Regions from separate parts of the Homo sapiens genome. Here region 2 is linked to region 1. Evidence: promoter capture Hi-C in human tissues and cell types (Jung and others, 2019). All regions are on one chromosome and are shown on one strand. The core of a region is centred on a gene start or on the middle of the fragment in contact, and the rest is flanking DNA. Distances in the headings are between cores, read along the strand shown. Region 1 holds the start of PHLDB3 (pleckstrin homology like domain family B member 3). Region 2 holds the start of ZNF428 (zinc finger protein 428).

Region 1 (5,804 bases), core at 2,125-4,624:
ACGGGGTTTCGCCATGTTGCCCAGGCTGGTCTCAAACTCCTGAGCTCAGGCAATCCGCCCGCCTCGGCCTCCCAAAGTGCTATGATTACAGGCGTGAGCCACTGCTTCCGGCCAGTTTGGAAGTTTTTACACACCCACATTTAAATAGCAAACGGACAGGGGACAAAGGAAGAGCCCCAAAAATCTCGCCCAGGGAGGGAGAAGGAAAACCAGGAGGGGCATCTGCCCCTCACTCTCTCAGGAGCCCAAATGTCTTCCTTTGGGGAATGGGGACAACCCCGGGGCGCAGGTGGCTAGGAGCACACCAACATCCATGGACCAGGAAGGACACTGCTGATGAAGACCCGGTGAGCCAAACAGACCTGTTCCCGCTGCTGGCGGCCGCGCTGCTCCGAGGCCGCCTGCTGCTCCAGCAGCTCCCGCAGCTGCTCCTCCTCCCGGCGAGCGGCCACTCGCTCCCCAGCCAGCTCACCCCGCAGCAAGGCCACCTCCACCTCCATCTGCGGAGAGAATGCCAGGGCTGGGGGCTCGGACGCCTAGGTCCAAGGAAGAGGCCCAGGGCCTGAACTACCGGATTCGAAGGGAGGATGGACTCCAGGGACCTGAATTTGGAGGGAGGAAGAGCGGAGGGCCTAAAATCTGATCCCACCCGAGGAAAAAGCTGGGAGTCCGGCTTTGCGGGTTCCGCTTGAGTTGGGGCCAGGCTTCCCAAGGGGTCCGCAGCCTCACCTCGATCCTCAGCTCCTTCCTCTGGCGCTGTAGCTCCTTCACTCGCTGCTCCATCAGGGCCACACGAGTCAATGCCTCCAGCTGCTGTCCTTGCAGGCGCCGCGCCGCCCCTCGCACCCCTTCCCGCGAAGAGGTGGATGCGGGAGGTGTGGCCGCCATAGCTATCGGAGGCGTAGCCTCGGGCTGAAGTTGAGGGGGGCGTGGTTAAGTGGAGATGCCTCGCCCCCTGCAATCACTAAGTAGGTCTGGTCCCCACCCAACATCACCCTCTGCGGGTCTCAGTCCATCAGTCCACTTACCTAACACAACCACCACTCCCATAATCTGTCGCAGGCTCTTTTCTTTTTCTTTCTTATCTTTTTTTTTTTTTTGTCCTGAGATAGGGTCTCACTGGCTGGAGTGCAGTGGCGCGATTACGGCTCACTGCAGCATCGACCTCCCTCGCTCAAGCGATTCTTCTGCCTCATCCTCCTAGGTAGCTGTGACTACAGGCGCGCACCGCCACGCCAAGCTCTTTTTTTTTTTTTTTTTTTTTGGCAGAGAGGGGGCGATGCTATGTTGCCCAGGCTGGTCTCAAACTCCTAGGCTCAAGGGATTCTCCCACCTCGGCCTCCCAAAGTGCTACGATTACAGGCATAAGCCACCGCGCCCGGCCTCAGACCCCTGTATTTAAGGTCGGAGTGGGGGAGGGTGCAAGTCCCGTGACCACCCAACCACACGGACCACAGAGGCTTGCAGTACCGTATGGAGGGTGAGCAGGTGTAAAGCCGACTTATGAAAGGTGTTTCTTTTTCTCTATCAGGTCCTATTCTCTTGGCGTCACTTTCTTGTAGTGCCTGGATCTGTCTCTGTCTCTCCACCTGACCCCAGTCTCTCAGATTCGGTATCTGTCCACTAGATCTGTCCACTAGAATCACTAGATCTTTCTTCCTCGGAGTATGTCCCTCTCTCGAGGTTTTTGTCTATTTGTTTCTCTGAGCATCTCTGCCATTTATTTCTGGGTTTCCCTCTGTCTCGATTCCCCTCTCTCTGACTCTAGTCTCACTGTGTCTCTGTCTTTTTGGGGTCTTTGTCTCTCAGTCTCCATGTCTCTGGGTCTCTGTCTGGCTTCTTGATCTCTCTGCATCTCTTACTCGTTTGGTTCTCTCTGTTCTGTAGTCTCTCCTGTCTGTCTATCTGGTCTCTCTCTCTCTCTCTCTCTCTCTCTCTCTCTCTCATTTTTAGAGATAGGTTCTGCTTTGTCCCAGGCTGGGGTGCAGTGGCGCAGTCATAGTTCACCGCAGCCTACAACTCCTGGGCTCAAGCGATCCTCCTGCCTCAGCCTCCCGAGTAGCTGGGATTACAGGCACGCGGCACTGCGCTTGGACAATTTTTGTATTTTTTTTTTCTCTAGAGACAGGGATTTGCTATGTTGCCCAGACTTGTCTCGAACTCCTGGGCTTAAGCAATCCTCCCCTCGGCCTCCCCAAGTGCTGGGATTACAGGCGTGAGCCACCTATCTGGTTCCTCTATACTAGTCTCTCTGTCTCTGTCGCCCGTTTGGGTCTATCTCCGTTCTTGGGGCCTCCCCGTGGCTCTATCTGGTTTCTGTCTCTGTATCTGGTTTCTGTCTGTCTGTGCCTCTGCCTCTCTGGCTCCGTGTCCTGGTGTATCTCTCTCTCAGTAGTCTCTGCTATCACTCGGTCTCTCTCCCTGTCTCCGGGTCTCTGTCTTTCTGGTTTCCCTCTACCTGTCTACCTGTCTGGCCACCTGTTTGGGTCCCCGTCGGTCCAAGCCCCCCGCGCTGTCGCCCTCGGGCCCCTCACCGCGTCGCGGCTGCTCTCAGTGCTGCTGCCTTCTCCCACTTCTTCTTCCTCTGCCTGCTGCTCAGCTCCCCCGCGGCTCGAAGGTTCCGCCAGGACTTCGGATGCCTCCTGTTCCCGGGACTCCTCGGGATGGCCCTGGGGCTGGACCTCCACGTCGCATTCCGGGACCAGCGGCGGCGGGGTCCCCTCCTCGGGGCTGCTTCGCGTCCCCATGGCCGCTGGGACTCCTGCGGGGTGGGCGGGACCAGAAGCTCCGGGGGCGGGGCCTAGGACGGCTGAGCGCCGCTCGCGTCTGCTCCGGGGCGCGGAGACCCCCCCCCAAGGAGGCGGGGCCTAAGAGTTCAAAGGATGGAACTGAGCGTTACGGAGGCGTGTCCTGAAGTTTCCAGAGGCGGGGCTTGATGGCTCCAAGGCGACACGCCACCGGAGACGGGACCGGAATTTGAGTCCGGGTCGTAGCACGCCCCCTACTGACCTCTTCGACCCCGCCTCCCCTCCCTCATCTCTAGGTGTCAGGCCTTGTACCCTCCCAGCAGCCCCCTACAATCTCTTGGATTCGCTTAGAGCGACCCATCTTCTCCCTCCGAGACTCAGCAGTTCGGCTCCCGCCCCATCCTTCCCGGAGCCCCGTAGTCTTAGTCCCGACCCCACTGTGCAGGGCAACCGTGCCCACGCCGCCTCACCCAGGGATCCAGGAGTCGGGGCTCTCCTTCTCTGAACAAGCCAGGAGTCGGAGTCCTTGAGATTCCGAAGTCCAACTGCCACCTCCCCACAGCCTCGGCCCCCTCACGAGCTCAGGCTTCGGCGCGCTCCGCTCTGCGCGCTGGGCACGGCCGCTTCTGCCTATGAGACAGGTGGCAGGGGAAGAGGGAGGAGAGAGGCCGCCCGGTCCCCCTCCCCAGCAGCCCGGAAGTGGAGGGGGGACAACAGGTCCAACAGCTCCCGAGGGAGGAGGGAGCCACGGGCTTGCCCCACCCGTGGCCTCGGCATCCGGCCATCCCGGCCCCACCGGCCCCGGCCCGGCCCCACCCTCGTGGAACTCAGCATCGCGACCTCCCAGTCTCCCTCGAGCCCCTCATTCCTGCCCCCCTGGAGGAGTCTTGGCCACCTCTGTATGGGAGCCTCTCTAATGTCCAGACCTTGGGAGTTCAGAAAGGAAGGCAGGAATGGAGATGGGGACGTCTCCCCTCTAATGAGCCCTTCAGAAGGGCCCTGACCGGTTTGGGGAGCTGGACAAGGGGAAGGGGTGCCCTGAACTGAGTCAGACACCTGCCCAGAGACTGAGGGAAGTGTACCGCCACCCCCCCACAACTTTGCTATGGGGTGGAGGGCAGAGGTTAAAGGTCTCAGCCAGACCCTTTCCTCTCTGGGCGAAAACAGGAAAATGAAAACAGGAAAATAACTGGTATATGAAAAGGGATGATTAGAAGTCAAGAGCTGTGTGAAACACTTTATACCCAGTCATTTAATTTCACCCTCAAAGCTGTCCAGCGAGAAAGTGATTACTACCTCCATTTCTTTTTTTTTAGTAGAGACTGGGTTTCTCCAGGTTGCCCAGGCTGATCTTGAACTCCTGGGCTCAAACAACCTGCCTGCCTCAGCCTCCCAAAGTGTTGAGATTACAGGCGTGAGCCACCGCTCCTGGCCTACTATCTCCATTTTACACTTGGGGATACAAGCTGAGGAGGACAAATGCACCCAAGGTTGGCTGGGCACAGAGGCTCAGGCCTGTAATCCCAGCACTTTGGGAAGCCGAGGCAGGTGGATTGCTTGAGATCAGGAGTTCAAGGCCAGCCTGGGCAACATGGAGAAACCCCATCTCTACTAAAAATACAAAAATTATGCCAGGCGTGGTGGCACACACCTGTCATCTCAGCTACTCCAGAGGCTGAGGCAGGAGGATATCTCGAGCCCAGGAGGTCGAGGCTGCAGTGAGTCTTGAATGTGCCACTGCACTCCAGCCTGGGCGACAGAGTAAGACCCCATCTCAGAAAAAAAAAAAAAAATGTAGCCAACATCTACACATGTTGTAAGTGGTAAAATGCAGGCTTCATTCTCTCAAAAGTCCATGTTCTTAACCATTGCGTATACTGTCACTACAAGCCAGGAAGTACCCAAAAGATCATTCTAAATGATAGTAACTTTAATGGTGAACACTGATAGGCCATGTGCCAGGCACTCACACACATTGACTCATCAGAGCATCACAACACCCCATTATTATTCCTTCCATTTTAGAGATAAGAAAACTGAGGCCTAGAGAAGTGAAGTAACTTACCCCAGGGCTAAGTGGGAAGTGGCTCAAAAGCAAGCCGGTGTTCTAATCCAAGGTGATGAGAAGACCTGCCCCAGATAGCTGTGTTTGTTTTTGATCTTGTGAGTTAGAAATCTTGTGGGCTCCCGGGCTGGGCGCGGTGGCTCACACCTGTAATCCCAGCACTTTGGGAGGCCGAGGCTGGTGGATCACGAGGTCAGGAGATCAAGATCATATTGGCTAACATGGTCAAACCCTGTCTCTACTAAAAATATGAAAAAATTAGCCGGGCATGGTGGCACGCGCCTGTAGTCCCAGCTACTTGGGAAGCTGATGCAGGAGAATCGCTTGAACCCGGGAGGCAGAGGTTGCAGTGAGCCGAGATCGTGCCACTGCACTCCAGCCTGGGCAATGGAGGGAGACTCCATCTCAAAAAAAAAAAGAAAAGAAAAAGAAAACAAATCTTGCAGGCTCCCTGGCCTCTCCATAGGACCAGAACCCCACCCCTTTCGGCCCAGAAACCCAATTGGTTCCCCCAGAAAATAGGTAGAAGTCAGACTCACGTTAAAAAAAGTTTTATTTAGGGAGCTCCAGGGAATGCGGTGGGAAAGGAGAGGTGCAGTGTCATTGCCGCCCTCTCCTCCCACCTAGTGCATTAATAGTGGATGGGAGCATCTGACAGAAGTGAGATCAGGCAGTGGGTGTCTGCACCCCACAGCGCATGTTGGCTGGAACAGCAAAGTCTGAAAGGAAGAAATCAAGGTTAAAACTAAGGGGCCTAGGTAGAGTTCCAGGCCCCACTGGAGACCCAGAAATCCTAGGAACCTTTCCTCTTCAGGAAACTAGAGTTTTGGTCCTGAGCCCACTCCTTCCCTCAGACCCAGGAGTCCAGTACCCCAGCCCCTCCTCCCTCAGACCCAGGAGTCCAGACCCCCAGCCCCTCTTCCCTCAGACCCAGGAGCCCAGACCCCCAGCCCCTCCTCCCTCAGACCCAGGAGTCCAGTCCCCCAGCCCTT
Region 2 (5,804 bases), core at 1,250-3,749, 110 kb after region 1:
TCACCCTTCAAAGCCCACCACAAACATAAGAACCTCTATACTTCTTGCCCGCTGAAATACTGCCTCTGCCAGGAAGCCTTCTGTGACTTCTCTCTCTCCCTCTTCACCAACGGACCGCCCCCGCCCCCCACCAACCCCACCACACACACACACCACTACTGTCTTCCACTGTACTCCCTGACAGTAGAGAACCAAGCAGGGCCAGTTGATGCAGCCTCAGCTATATCTCTTACATGCCAAGGCCCATGCACTGGGGATACAATGGTGGAAAATACATGGTCCCTTCAAAGTCTGGATGTCAAGTTTAATGCTGGGGACTAAAGAGAAAAGCTTCAGATTGAAACCTGGAGGTGGCTGGGGCAAAGGACCATTGGCATCATTGGCAGGGCAACTTCCTAAAGAAAGCACCTAAATCTTGGCTTTTAAAGACAGATTTCATAATTGGCAGAGGAGAATTCTAATGATACCCTATTGCCTACAGGGCCCCATCTAATTTGGGAATTCTACTTTATACCAAGATAAGATTGCCAGATTTAGCAAATAAAAACAGAAGACATCCAATTAATTTTTTTGTTTGTTTTTGGGTTTTTGTTGCGGAGATGGTGTCTCACTATGTTGCGAAGGCTGCTGTCAAATTCCTGGCTCAAACAATCCTCCTGCCTTGGCCTCCCACTTCCCAAAGTGCTGGGATTACAGGCATGAGCTACCACACCTGGCCCTTATTTATTTATTTATTTAATTTTCTTTTTTGGGACGGAGTGTCACTCTGTCGCCCAGGTTGGAGCGCAGTAGCGCGATCTCGGCTCACTGCAACCTCTGCCTCCTGGGTTCAAGCGATTATCCTGCCCCAGCCTCCCAAGTAGCTGGGACTACAGGCGCGTGCCACCATGCCCGGCTTTTTTTTTTTTTTTTTTTTTTTTTTTGAGACGGAGTCTTGCTCTGTCGCCCAGGCTGGAGTGCAGTGGCACGATCTCGGCTCACTGCAAGCTCCGCCTCCTGGGTTCACGCCATTCTCCTGCCTCAGCCTTCCGAGTAGCTGGGACTACAGGCGCCTGCCACCACGCCCGACTATTTTTTGTATTTTTAGTAGAGATGGGGTTTCACCGTGTTAGCCAGGATGATCTCGATCTCCTGACCTCGTGATCCACCCGCCTCGGCCTCCCAAAGTGCTGGGATTACAGGCGTGAGCCACCGCGCCCAGCCTACTTATTTATATTTTTTAAGAGACAGGGTCTCGCTCAGTTGCCCAGGCTGGAGTGCAGTAGGGTGATCTGTAGGAAAGGGGCTTCCAGGCCTTAACTCATGTACTCCCCCATAACCAGGTTGGGAGGTTAGCTCACTGTAACCTCAAACTCCTGTGCTCAAGGTACCCTACTAGCCCCTAGGAGAGCAGCTGGGACTACAGGTATGCGCCACCATGCCAGGCTTAATTTTTACTTTTTTTTTTTTTTTTTTTTTTTGTAGAGACGGGGGTCTCACTATATTGCCCAGGCTGGTCTTGAACTCCTGGTCTCAAGCGATCCTCCTGCCTTAGCCTCCCAAAGTATTGGTATCACTGCAACTAGCCCAAAGAATTAATATAGCTATGTTCCATGTGATATTTGGGACATACTTTTCTAAAAGGTTGTATCTTTTGGATATAATTGTTTATCTGAAATTCAAATTTAACTAGACATTGTATATTTTATACGGCAACCACACACCTGGGACAATCAAGACATTCCCTGAAGTTACCAGGAGACAATGCCCATCAGCCTACACTTTTCCAAGCCCACGTCACACAAGGCCCCTTCCAGAGTATTCCAGACGTCAGGTAGGGCCATCCCTTGGTTCACAAGTCCCACTCCTACCACGCCTATGGCAGCCAAACTGAAAGGCAAACACAGTGCTGGAGACCCCACAATGCCCTGGGCCTATAGCAGTCAATTCCCAAGATGCCCCGCGTGAACACAATAGGCACCCGTTCCAATGCTCGAGCAAAGAGACCAGGGCAAAACCTTCCACTACGGGACAATAACGGCCAGTTCCCACAATTCGTTGTGGCAGTTCTTCCCAGGATGCCTTAGGCCTATAGCGACCACCTTCCCAGACTCCCCGTGTGGAAGCGCTCCAAGCCTCCAGGACGGTCAGCGGCAGGTGTGGGATAAAAGGAACCGGTCTCGACAAGGATCTGGGACACTCTTTCCCAGGATGCACCAGGCCTACGACTAGCGGACCGACTCCCACAGCGCTTCAAGGCGGAGCGCTCGGTTCTCCCAGGATGCCCCAGGGCGGCACAAACGCGTAGGGGGAGAAAAAGAAGCCCTCGGGTCACCACGGCCCCAGACCGCCGGCTCCCCGGTGACGGGAGTCGTCGCTCCCATCATGCAGCGGGGCCGTAGCGCCCGCTTCCCGGCATGCCTCGCGCACCCCTGCCCGGGACACTCACCGGCGCCGGCGGCCCCCGCTCCGGCTCTGCGGCGGCGGCTGCACGCCCAGCCTCTGCGCCTGCGTCGCAAGTAGGGTAGGACAGCGCGCAGGGGGCGTGAAGAGCCTAGGGCGCTTGCGCGGCGAGACGGACTAGTCCTGTAGCGCTGTGGGAAGAGGGGCTATGCGCGTCGGGCCGTCGACGAGACCCGCGCGGGGGGCGCCGTGCTTTGCCCCTCGCTGCCTGGGTTTACTTGGTACAGCCCGCGGCCCAAAGGAACAAGAAGCTGAAGGGTTCGCGCGTGCGTGTGCGGGGCAGGAACGCGCCTTACAAAACTGGGATGCGCTGGGGGTGGAGGGCGCTAGTTCGGACTGGATCCTGGGCCCGAGGCCTGCTTATTTGCATAATCCTAGCGCGGGACAATGAAAGGCCTCCCGCACTGGAAGGAGTGATTTGCATATTCCCCGGAGGGGCCTTACTCCAGAGCGCAGTGATTAGCATATGGCGGGGGCAACCTGAGCAAAGCGCATGCGCGCAGGGACTGCAGACTGACGCGAAGTGGGTAGCCTTGTCTTCGTAGGGGATCAGTTTGCATCCTGAGAGAGGGCACGAGGGCCAGGACCCCTCCCAACCAGGATAAAGGTTTATTGATCTCCTAGGTGTCAGGCCCCATGCTGGCGGATTCTGTGGTTTCTGCAGTGAACCATACTCCTGTACTCACGGCACCCCAGTCGAAGGAGATACGCACCTAATTAGACAACTACTACCCAGAAGGTCAGACCTGGAGTGAGGAACACAGGGGGCTGTGGGAGCCTAAGAGGCGCTTGCCCCGGCCTCTGGTTCTAGAAAGACTTCCAGGAGGTGGTGATCCTTAAGCCAAGTACGAATAGGAGCCAACTAGAATGGGAATGGGTCTGGCAGAATGAACTGCAAGCGCCAAGGCCCAGAGGCCAAAAAAAAAAAAAAAAAAATAGAAGCGCATGTTTTGATTGAGGAAGCAAGAGCAGCTTAGTATGCCTAGAACCTAACTGGAGACGGGAAATGGTTCTATAGACGATGTTAGAGTTCAACTATGGCTACATTCCAGTCTTCCTGTAAGTGACTTTGTCACATTCTGGCTTAAAACTCCCCCAAAGGGATCCCATTAGGAAAAAAAAAAAATCCAAAAATCTTTATCATGGCCTCAGGGCTATACACCTGGTCTGGCCGTGCTTATCTTTCTGACCCCACCTACTTCCTCCTCCCTCCATTTCTGTCCAGCTCCACCTTACCCCAAACTCTTTACCAGCTCGGGCCTCTGCTCTTGCCGTTCCCTCCGCCTGAAAATGCTTTTCCCTCTGACCTTTGAATACCTACTCTTGTGCTCACCATTCATATCTTGGTACAGATGTCAATCTGAGAGGCTTTTCCTGATCTCTCCATAATAGCACTTACACATTTGACTGGAGTTATGGATAAATCGGGATTGGCCATGAGTTGGTGGTGGTTGTAACTGGCATGAAGAGTACATGGGGCTGGGCGCGGTGGCTCACGCCCGTAATCCCAGCACTTTGGGAGGCCGAGGCTGGTGTATCACCTGAGGTCAGGAGCTTGAGACCAGCCTGGGCAACATGGTGAAACCCTGCCTCTATTAAAACTACAAAAATTAGCCAGGGGTTATGGGGGGTGCCTGTAATCCTTGCTACTTGGGAGGCTGAGGCACGAAGATCACTTGAACCCTGGAGGCAGAGGTTGCATTGAGTCGAGATTGAGCCACTGCACTCCAGCCTGGGCCACCCAGCGAGACTCTGGGTCTCGCCTGTAATCCCAGCACTTTGGGAGGCCGAGGCGGGCGGATCACGTCAGAAGATCGAGACCATCCTGGCCATCCTAGACCATTTCTACTAAAAATACAAAAAAAAAAAAAAAAAAATTAGCCGGGCGTGGTGGCAGGCGCCTGTAGTCCCAGCTACTCGGGAGGCTGAGGCAGGAGAATGGCGTGAACACGGGAGGCGGAGCTTGCAGTGATCCGAGATGGCGCTACTGCACTCCAGCCTGGGCGACAGAGCGAGACTTGGTCTCAAAAAAAAGAGTACATGGGACGTTATTGTCCTGTCTACTCCTGTGGGTTTGAAGTTTTCCATAATGACAATGGCATACCACATCACCATACTCTGCATTTATATTAATAGTTCTTATCACAATCTGAACTTTCTTTGCTTCCTTGTTTTGAGTGTTTTCCTCATGAAAGCTTCATGAGGGTAAGAATGGAGTCGCCCTTTTTCACTTTGGGTTCTCAATGCTTAGAGCAGGATCAGATTTCAGATTAGTGTAGCGCTGTCTTTAACACTTAACATTTGCCTGTTTTATTCACCATGGACTCTAGAACTTTGAGCAGCACCTGGCACATCGTAAGAGGTTATTTTTTAAAGTTAGAATAATACATCTAAAATGTACATGAATGAATGAGAGGCCTGGGATGCCAGACTAAAGAGCTTTGACTTGGTCTAAAGGTGATGGGGAGCTAGGCAAAGGTTTTGAGAGTTTAACTTTAATTCAAAGTTCCCTTGGAGACTAATGTCTGGGGTAGGGGGAAGCCAGGGTAAGGGTCCGGGCCATGGAATGGGGTAGCTCAGTCGCTATCAAAAAGACAAGACTGTGACTATTTGGCTGAAGAAATGGCCAAACCCAGGTTTCTGGGGAGGTCGAGGTACCCTCAGTGAGGTCAGGACCTTCTCCTGGCCTATACTGTCCACCAGCAACCATCACACTCCTCCCTCCCCTCTCCCTTAGTTCCCCTCCCAATGGTACAGCCCTTGACAGCAGGACAGACACACAGCCACCCCAAACACTTGTTCTCTCCTCAGTTTAATGGTGGTTAGTGAGATTGCCAAACCCCCTCCCCATTCCCCTCCCCACCCCGTACAAAATGTGTGTGTGGTTTTTTGTTTTTTGTTTTTTGTTTTTTAACAAGAAAAAGGGGGCAAAAGCCAGGAATGGGGAGAGGGGGGTGCAATCTGATATTTTCATACAGACTTTTGATTTTTTAATATATTATATATAAAACCATGAAGACCACGAATCCTCCCCAAACTCCTTTCCCCCTCCCCGGGGGGCCTGGAGGAGAGATGGGGAAGGCCCCCCCAGGAGTGGGTGGACAGAGAGACAAATATGGATGGGACAGACGTTGGGGGAGAAGGTAGAGAGAAGGGGAGCCCAGGAACCTGGGGAAGGGGGATTGGAGAAAAGGGTTGGGGCTGTCTCCCTCACTGCCCCCATCAAAGTTATGACACAAAGACACAGAATCCCTATTTCCACGCCCTCCCCCCACCCATCCCCCCACCGTGCAAACATGGCTTTGCAAAGAAGTGCCCAGAGCTCTGTGGAACTCTTACAATGGCTGGCATGGGGTCTAGGA

The links. Contacts are between HindIII fragments. The study calls those that stand out against the background at their distance.
Region 2: the fragment with the promoter of ZNF428 here is called in contact with the fragment with the promoter of PHLDB3 in region 1 in 1 of the 25 tissues and cell types used here (stomach).

What each region holds. Positions count from the first base shown.
Region 1 is chr19:43,501,372-43,507,175 of GRCh38, forward strand. PHLDB3 (pleckstrin homology like domain family B member 3) reads right to left here and starts at 3,375. Exons shown (of 16, transcript NM_198850.4): 1 at 3,218-3,375; 2 at 2,535-2,761; 3 at 730-912; 4 at 363-500. The coding sequence starts at 2,747. ETHE1 (ETHE1 persulfide dioxygenase) reads right to left here. Exons shown (of 7, transcript NM_014297.5): 7 at 5,348-5,531. The coding sequence ends at 5,479. RefSeq lists an enhancer at 2,511-3,033 and silencers at 2,662-2,911, 3,512-3,571. The HindIII fragment of the contact is 32,375 bases long and covers 1-5,804 here.
Region 2 is chr19:43,617,130-43,622,933 of GRCh38, forward strand. ZNF428 (zinc finger protein 428) reads right to left here and starts at 2,500. Exons shown (of 3, transcript NM_182498.4): 1 at 2,429-2,500. LOC105372411 (a long non-coding RNA gene) reads left to right here and starts at 1,932. Exons shown (of 4, transcript XR_001753942.2): 1 at 1,932-2,503. CADM4 (cell adhesion molecule 4) reads right to left here. Exons shown (of 9, transcript NM_145296.2): 9 at 5,239-5,804. RefSeq lists an enhancer at 1,859-2,509 and a silencer at 2,314-2,553. The HindIII fragment of the contact is 11,511 bases long and covers 1-5,804 here.